Regions from separate parts of the Homo sapiens genome. Here region 1 is linked to region 2. The links are contacts of gene promoters, found by promoter capture Hi-C in blood cells and fetal thymus (Javierre and others, 2016). All regions are on one chromosome and are shown on one strand. Each heading gives the region's core, a stretch centred on a gene start or on the middle of the fragment in contact. The rest is flanking DNA. Distances are from core to core; before and after follow the strand shown. Region 1 overlaps CCDC157 (coiled-coil domain containing 157). Region 2 holds the start of CASTOR1 (cytosolic arginine sensor for mTORC1 subunit 1).

Region 1 (3,544 bases), core at 8-2,507, 70 kb after region 2:
CTGCAAGCTATGCGGCTCGCTCCCCAGAGGCCTACCTCGAATCCCGCCGGCTTCTCTCCCTCTCCTGCGATTCCCCCCTCTCTCCTTCCTCCTCTCCTCAACTCTGGAAAGCGGGGAGCTGGCTCCGAACCTGTTCCTGGACTTCAGTTTCCTCACCTGTGAAATGAGGGAGTGATAGGAAAGGTTGCTCTCTCAAGTCTTCCCCCTCCCCCCACACACATCGTAGCTGTGTGTCATGGTTGTTATTAATGTAGAATAATGATAGCTGGGATGTATTGGTCATTTACTATGAGCCGGATACTGTGCCCAACACTTCATGTGTTACGTCATTTATTCCTTATAGCAACCTATTTACAAATGAGGACAGTGAAGTTTGGAGTTGGTAGAGTGGGAATGCAAGTTCAAGCCAGTCTTATTCCTCTACTAGTGCAGTTAGTTATTTTGCCCTCAGTCCCTTCAGTATCCCCAGGGATCCAGGCAATTAACAATCTCATGTTTGAGACTGACATCTGCCACATAGCTGGTTTTAGAGTTTCCCGTGTTTTCATGGTGGTGGCTTTGAATCTCACCAGGCACCCTGGCTGGGAAGTAGGCATCATCTTTACCGAGTAGGGTTAGGGTACTAGTTCTGAGAGAGAGAAGGCGCTTGAATGTTGAACGGAAATGCAGGAAAGGCTCCTGCTCTTCTCTGGGAGTCAAAAGTCCACCTTGAGCCCCAGGAAATTGAGGAGAGGCAGAGATAGCTGCTGCTCCTCCCTAAGGGCTCAATTAGTGCTGTCACCTATGTGGTCATGGGTACAGTGCCGGGCTGGCAGCTTCAGACTGAGGGTTCCACTCAAGACCCAGGAATTGCAGAAAGAGCTCACGTCAAGTGCTTCTTCACTTGACACACACATAAAGTACTTCTTAAACTATGCTTGTATCTGCATGACTTCAATTTTCAGAAGAAACAACATAAGGTCATCTTGGATTTTCCTGACACTTGGGCATTTGCTGCTGCTTATCTGATCCAGGATCTACTGGGAGTTGATATCCAGGATGGCCCCATGTGGCAGCTATAGTTATTTGAAGGTGAACAGATCAGTGTTTCCTGGTGCCTTCACAAGCAAGCTTATGAATTCCAGATGCTTTGCCACCTGAATACACTTTCTCCCAGGTTGGGGGCTTCTTGATTTCTTTATTTCTTTCATGCCCATTCCAGGAAGGAAACCCAGAATACTTCCGTGTGTTATTTTGCCTTTGTTTCTGCCTCCCTCCTTGGAGACATAAAATCTCTTGGGCAGCAGTAGTTCATTGGCAGTTGCCAAGACAACAGGAGTGTAGGATGTGGGCATGTGTGTTGTGAGTATCATGGGGCAGACACGTATCCCTTGGGTGATATCCCATGGGTGAAACTGGCACACACAAGCTTACCCCTTGCGGAGACCCTCAGATATCACTGGTAGTTCCTGGAGGACAGGGCTCCTTGTGCCCTGCTGTGTTCCTGGTCTTGACGTAGTGCCTGGTATGGAACAGATACTCAGTCCTCATTTGCTGAATGCACACACAGCATCCAACCCTCTGCACCGTCCAATACAGTAGCTACCAGCCAACACAGATTTTGAACATTTGAAATGGTTTCTGGTCCAAATGGCCATGTGTTGTCAAACAGGCATTAGATTTTGAGACTTAATACCATAAAAATGTTAAAAATCTCCTTAATAATTTTATATTGATATGTTGAAATGATAATGTTTTGGGTATATTGGGTTAAATAAAATATGCTGTTAAAATTAAAGTTAATTGACCTTTATTTTTACTCTTTTTAATGTGTAGGGGAGAAAAAGTAATATATTTTCCTCACTCATTGCAAGTTTAATAAAAGATTAAGGTGTCTCACGCCTATAATCCCAGCACTTTGAGAGGACAAGACGAAAAGATTGCTTGAGGCCAAGAGGCCAGGACCAGCCTGGGCAACATAGCAAGTCTCTGTCTTTACAAAAAACAAAAAAATTAGCCAGGTGCGGTGGCACCCACCTGTAGTCCTACCTACTCAGGAGGCTGAGGGGGAGGATCACTTGAGCCCAGGAGTTAAAGGTTACAATGAGCTATGACAGCACCACTGCACTGCAGCCTGAGCAACAGAGTGAGACCCTGTCTCTAAAAAATAAATAAATGAAATAAAATTTTAAAAACAGATTAACAAGAGAAAAGCATACAAATTTAATAAAAGTTTACCTGCCGGGCGCGGTGGCTCACGCCTGTAATCCCAGCACTTTGGGAGGCTGAGGCGGGCAGATCACAAGGTCAGGAGATTGAGACCATCCTGGCTAACATGGTGAAACCCCATCTCTACTAAAAAATACAAAAAAATTAGCTGGGTGTTGTGGCGGGCGCCTGTAGTCCCAGCTACTCTGGAGGCTGAGGCAGGAGAATGGCGTGAACCCAGGAGGCAGAGCTTGCAGTGAGCCGAGATCACGCCACTGCCCTCCAGCCTGAGCGACAGAGCGAGACTCCGTCTCAAAAAAAAAAAAAAGTTTTCCCTGACATGGAAACCTTCAGAAATGAAAACCCAAAGAAACAAGGAGATCTGTGTTTTTATGGTCAGTGTGCAGAATTATGATTGGTGGACCCAAAGGTATGATCTGGCGGGGCGCGATAGTTCATGCCTGTAATCCCAGCACTTTGGAAGACCAAGGAGGGTGGATCACCTGAGCTCAGGAGTTGGAGACCAGCCTGACCAATATGGTGAAACCCTGCCTCTACTACTAAATACAAAAATTGGCCGGGCATGGTGGCTCATACCTATAATCCCAGCACTTTGGGAGGCTGAGGTAGGTGGATCATGAGGTCAGGAGTTTGAGACTAGCCTGACCAACATAGTGAAACCCCATCTCTAATAAAAAATACAAAAATTCACTGGGCATGGTGGCACGTGCCTGTAGTCCCACCTACTCAGGAGGCTGAAGCAGGAGAATCACTTGAACCCAGGAAGTGGAGGTTGTAGTGAGCCAAGATCGCACCACTGCACTCCAGGCTGCGCAACAGAGCGAGACTCTCTTTCAAAAAAATAATAAATACAATTAAAAATTTAAAAAATAATAAAAATACAAAAATTAGCTGGGCGTGGTGGTGTGCACCTGTAGTCCCAGCTACTCAGGAGGCTGAGACAGGAGAATTGCTTGAACCCAGGAGGCGGAGGTTGTGGTGAGCTGAGATTGTGCCACTGTACTCCAGCCTGGGTGACAGAGCAAGACTCTGTCTCAAAAAAAAAAAAAAAAAAGAAAAAAGGTATGATCTAGTAGTAATACATGAGGGAGGGCATGGATTTAGTAAGGCCTGTTTGCTCAGATTCTTCTTGGTGTCCCTATGTGACATTGCTTCCCATCTGGGTATAGGGCAGGACACCTGTCACATGAGGGTCTTCAGGGGAGGAGGGGAGAGGTCACAGACTGACCTTCCTGGCGGCCTGCTTCAGAGAAGAAGGATGAGGGGAAGATGAGGGTGGCCTTCCTGCTTCTGCAGTTTTTTGCATTTCTAAGGTGCCATATTTTGGGGTAGCATT
Region 2 (4,336 bases), core at 218-2,717:
GTGGAGCATGGGGACAGGCTAAGCTCCAGCTAGCTGGCCTGAGACTCCAAGCCTGTGAGGATGGGCAGGGCCAGCAGCAGGAGGAGGAGCTAGGCGTCAGCTCCAGGCCCCAGGGAGGGCCCAGGCTGGCGTCCAGTCCTGAGCTGGGGCCAGGGCCTGGGTGGCTGCTATTCACCCCAGCACAGCCAGGAGGCCTCCAGGACCCTCCCCTGAGATGGCTGCCTGCTCCTGCATTCCTTCCCTCAGACTCCTGGAGTTTCCAGACCAGCAGGGGAGGAGGTGACCCAAACCAGAGAGTAAGACCAGGAGGAAATAATACCCAGGGATTTCTAACAGCAGCACTTGACTGGAATCATAACAGAGGCCCTTCTGCAGGCCTAAGACTGCTGAGTGCCCCTCAGCGGTTTTAAGTTTATAAAGGCCTCATGGGACCCTATGTATCAGAACCATAACTATACCCATTTTACATAAGAGAAAACAGCTCAGAGAGGGAAAGTGATTTGCTCAAGGGCACACAGCCAGGGAGTGGTGGAGTAGGATTCGAACCCCGACCCATCTGCTTTTAAGGCTTAAGCTCTTGGGACGGATCCCAGCAACTGGTGAGAACCCTACAGAAGGGGAGCACGACAAGCCCCTCCCGTACTCCCGTTCCCCAGACCAACCCCCACCTTTAAAGCCCTCCTCGTCCACCATAAGCGTGTAATCCTCAGGGGTCTCCGTCAGGCTGAAGAACTTGCACCTGGTTGGGGGTGGGGAGCATCTTCAGCTTGGTGTGGAGAACTAGGGGTCGGGAGTGGATTTCTCTCCATCTGCCCCGAGACACCCCCGCGACCCTGGGCCGGGCGCCTTCTTGCCCTCTCGGCCTTTAATTTCCAGGCCAATGGGATGTTAGCCCCATCTCGGGGGTTGGGGGCTACTTTCCGGCCTCCCGACCTCTCCAGGAACCCTCCACCCCTCCACTCCTGGAGGGAGGAGAGGTTCACACCCGCGGCGACAGCCCCAGGGGCGTCGGACCTTGGACCCCCTAGTCCAGCCCCTCTGACATGAAGGGAGGCGTCCTGGAAGGAGCTCCCCGCAGTGACCAGGTAGGAATGCCCCCATTTGACACTACTGAGTTAAGCATTGCCCATCCCAGGCTGTTTGCGCTTTGCCCCTGGGAGGGGGCCTCACGGGGCCGGATAGGCGGCGGTCCCCCAGGCCGGATGGCGGCCGGACGGGGAGAGTCCTCCCCACCCGCTCCCGCCCGCCTGCCTGCCTGCCTTACGGCGATCCTAATCCTCCGACCCTGGCCCGGAGCGAGAGCAGAGCCCCCAGCCCCTATCTGCGCTCCCGAACCCGGGCGCGCACCGGCTGCGGCGGGGCAGGAAGAGCAGCTTGATGAGCGGGTGGGTGTAGAGCCAGAGACCGGGACGGGCGACGCTCAGCACCCGCACCCGGTGTTCTAGGATGTGCAGCTCCATCGCGGCTCGCGCGGACCCGACCCCGCCGCCAACTAGACCCAGGCCGCACGGGAGGCGGGGCGGCGGGGGTGGTGCCCGAGCCTTAAAGGAGCCGCTGCGCTGCCGCGTCCACGCCGCCCGCTGCGAGGCTGACCCGCCCAGCCAGGCGCGGCGTCCGGCTCCTTGACGGCCACGCCCCGCGGGAAGAGAAGCCTATTGGGTGGTCACGCCTCCTCCTAACGCCAGAACCTCATCCCGCTTTCCAGCCAGCCCACCGAGACCGCCCCGAACGGCTCCGCCTTTTTTAGTACTGGCTCGGGGATAGACCCCACCCCGTCTGACTCCTCCAGGCCCCGCCCCTGACGCGCCCCCTCCCTGGGCTCCGCCCTTTCCGCGGAAAGCCAGCTGCGCAGCCGGTGGGAGCATCCCGGAGGGGACGTTTCTGTCCTTCTGGCACACACGTGGGTTTCATGATTGAAGTCCTTGAGACAGAAGGGACACGAAACAAACTGGAGCTCGGCTAGGACCAGAACGCTGCCCCCAAATCCCCGGAGCAATGAGAGGCACAGGTCTGCTGTGCAGCGCTGTCCCCCGGGCGCCTTTCGCTCTCCTGCCTCTCATGGCTGCAGGGGGCAGGGCCGCCAACACAGGATTGCGATTGATACCTACCCTTCCCCGCTTGCGAGGGGGCTGACAAATTGAAACCTGGCCTGGTAGCCCCACTTGTTCCTTTCATCCAACTTTCAAAATAGAAGGCTCCTCACCAGGGGCACACAGAGGTAGAATCCTAGCCACCTCTGCCTGAGCGACATACTTTGGGTTAGGGGGCTGCAGGTGGCCAAGGCCTAAGGCTTGAGGTCCCTCGATACCAACAAAACCCGGAAGTGCTTGAGCCAGTAATGCCCAGTGCTCAGACTTTGGTGGGGGAGGCCCTTGCAGCTGAGGTTCAGTGAGTACTCAGACCTCAAGCCTGAAACTTGAGCCCCAAAGCCTGCAGCCCTTAGCTAGCCTGTGCACATCTAAACTTGCTTCAGGTTCAAGGAGGCCCCCGGCACTGGCAGACACCCCAGATCTTATCAGGCCTTCACAGGTCTAAGACCCCCCCAAGGCTAAGCAGGCATCAGCATGTCCATGTTGGCTCCATGCAGGGCTGAGAATGCTCCAGGGGACCCTTGCCTGGCCTGAGCACCCTGAGGCCTCAGATGTGAGGCTTTGAACCAAGTAGACTAAAGCAGGCCTCAGGCCTGATTGGGACCCAGCAGGCCTAAGCAGGCCCTCTGCCTGCTCTGGAGCCCCCACCATAGGCAGATGGAAGCCAAGCTAAGCCTCCTCCCTGGACTCTCGGGCTTGACACATTCCTGTGAAACACTATGTAGCCACCACATCCTGGCCTATCCCCTGGAGGACTAGGGGAAGGAGGAGCTTCTCAAAGGCTGAGCCCATCTCATCAATGGCAGGTGCAGACAGAGTGGGAAACCATGGGGCTGAGGGGAAGGAGGCAGGAAGTGGAGTGGCCTACCCTGATAGTCTCTTGAAACCCTTCACCTCCCTAGGCCTCAGTATCCCCAGCTGTACCAGGACAGGATGTTCCAGGCCCAGGCGAAGGCTGAAAGCTCCCAGGGAGGCTCTGCTCCTCCCTCTCCTGCCCCCTCCCGCTATGGCCTGGCCTGGCCCAGCTTGGTCATCTGCCAGGAATAGCGCTATTGTTTGACTGGAAAAGCTGCTTCCTCAGCAGAAGGGGGGCCTCTCCCAGGGACACCCTGTCCTTGCCCTCACCAGTCATCAGGTTGTGACCGCAGTGCCTGCCTGGGCCCTCAAGGGCAGAGTCAGGTCTCCTGGAGCCCTGGTCAGGAGAGGAAGCTGAGTGAGGGGCTCTTGGTGCAAATCCGGCTGAGGCTTTCCCATTCAGCTCCTGTTTCCTCGTCTGTTAAATGGGGCTAATGGAGCCTACTTGACCAGTCCAGCCTGGCACTTGGCAGTAAATCGAAGGCGGCATTTTATCAAAGAACCACAATTCGCCCCCCTCCCTGAGGGCCTGGGCTGAGCCTGTGAGGACATTCGTGGTGCTCCACTCCGGGCCCCGTCCCTGACCCCAACCCAGAATCAGCTCTCAGAAACTTACTGGAGCCTGAGGTAGCATCCAGGCCAGGACTTGAAGGAGGAAGACCCTGAAACCTCCTCCTTAGGAGTCCCTGCCCCCTTGGTGGGTGGGTGAGGACCAAGGCCTAGGGAGCACGCCCTGCTCTGCCCAGCACTGAGCTCCAGCCCTGGTGTCCCTCATCTGTGGCAGAAGGTAGACATAAGGCAGTGGGGATGGGGTGAGTGAAAATGGGGGTTAAGAATGGGGGCTGACCAGGGACTTGGCATGTCCTCTGGCAAAGGTACCTCTCAGAGAGGCTCTGGTGCTGGGCTGGGGCCCAGGAGAAGGGGCTCTGTAGGGCAAAGAGAAGAGATGCTGAGCACCAAGGTGACCAAGGTGGTACCCCCTTCCCAGCCCCTAGCTGTACACGAGCTCTCTATACAAGGCTGTTTATTTCTGTACAAAACCATGTTTCTATTTTACACAAAGAACACCCCACCCTTTCCCCTCACACCAGCACCCTAACCCTGGGGAGCATCCCCCAGGAGGAGGGGGCTGAAGGAGGCCCCACCCCCCAGGCCCTAGCTTCTGCCTGCCCTGGCTGGGCCAGCCTGAGTGCCACTGTAAAGAAAATAAATAAGGAGGCTCAGGCAGAATCTGTGTTGGACCAGGCAGAATCTGTGTTGGACCAGCCAGACTCCAGCCCAGCCCAGTGGCCAGGCAGCTTGGCCCTCAGAGGGTGGGCAGGATGTGGAATGTCAGTTCATGAACCGTGTAGTTATATGGAGACCCCGCCCTGGAGGCCTTAGCTGCCAGG

The links. The method cuts DNA at HindIII sites, captures the fragments that hold promoters and counts their contacts. A CHiCAGO score of 5 or more calls a contact.
Region 1: a fragment that was not itself captured here is called in contact with the fragment with the promoter of CASTOR1 in region 2 in 16 of 17 cell types (naive CD4 T cells, naive CD8 T cells, total CD8 T cells and 13 more); the score reaches 20.4 in naive CD4 T cells.

The regions. Positions count from the first base shown.
Region 1 is chr22:30,358,004-30,361,547 of GRCh38, forward strand. All of the region lies in intron 1 of CCDC157 (coiled-coil domain containing 157), which reads left to right. Among named protein-coding and RNA genes, the nearest start is that of CCDC157, 2.8 kb to the left of the region's middle. RefSeq lists an enhancer at 1-372. The HindIII fragment of the contact is 298 bases long and covers 1,109-1,406 here.
Region 2 is chr22:30,288,038-30,292,373 of GRCh38, forward strand. CASTOR1 (cytosolic arginine sensor for mTORC1 subunit 1) reads right to left here and starts at 1,468. Exons shown (of 9, transcript NM_001037666.3): 1 at 1,348-1,468; 2 at 669-739. The coding sequence starts at 1,460. It overlaps TBC1D10A (TBC1 domain family member 10A), which reads right to left. Exons shown (of 9, transcript NM_031937.3): 9 at 3,953-4,336. RefSeq lists silencers at 1,126-1,205, 1,406-1,845 and an enhancer at 2,726-2,785. The HindIII fragment of the contact is 5,917 bases long and covers 1-4,336 here.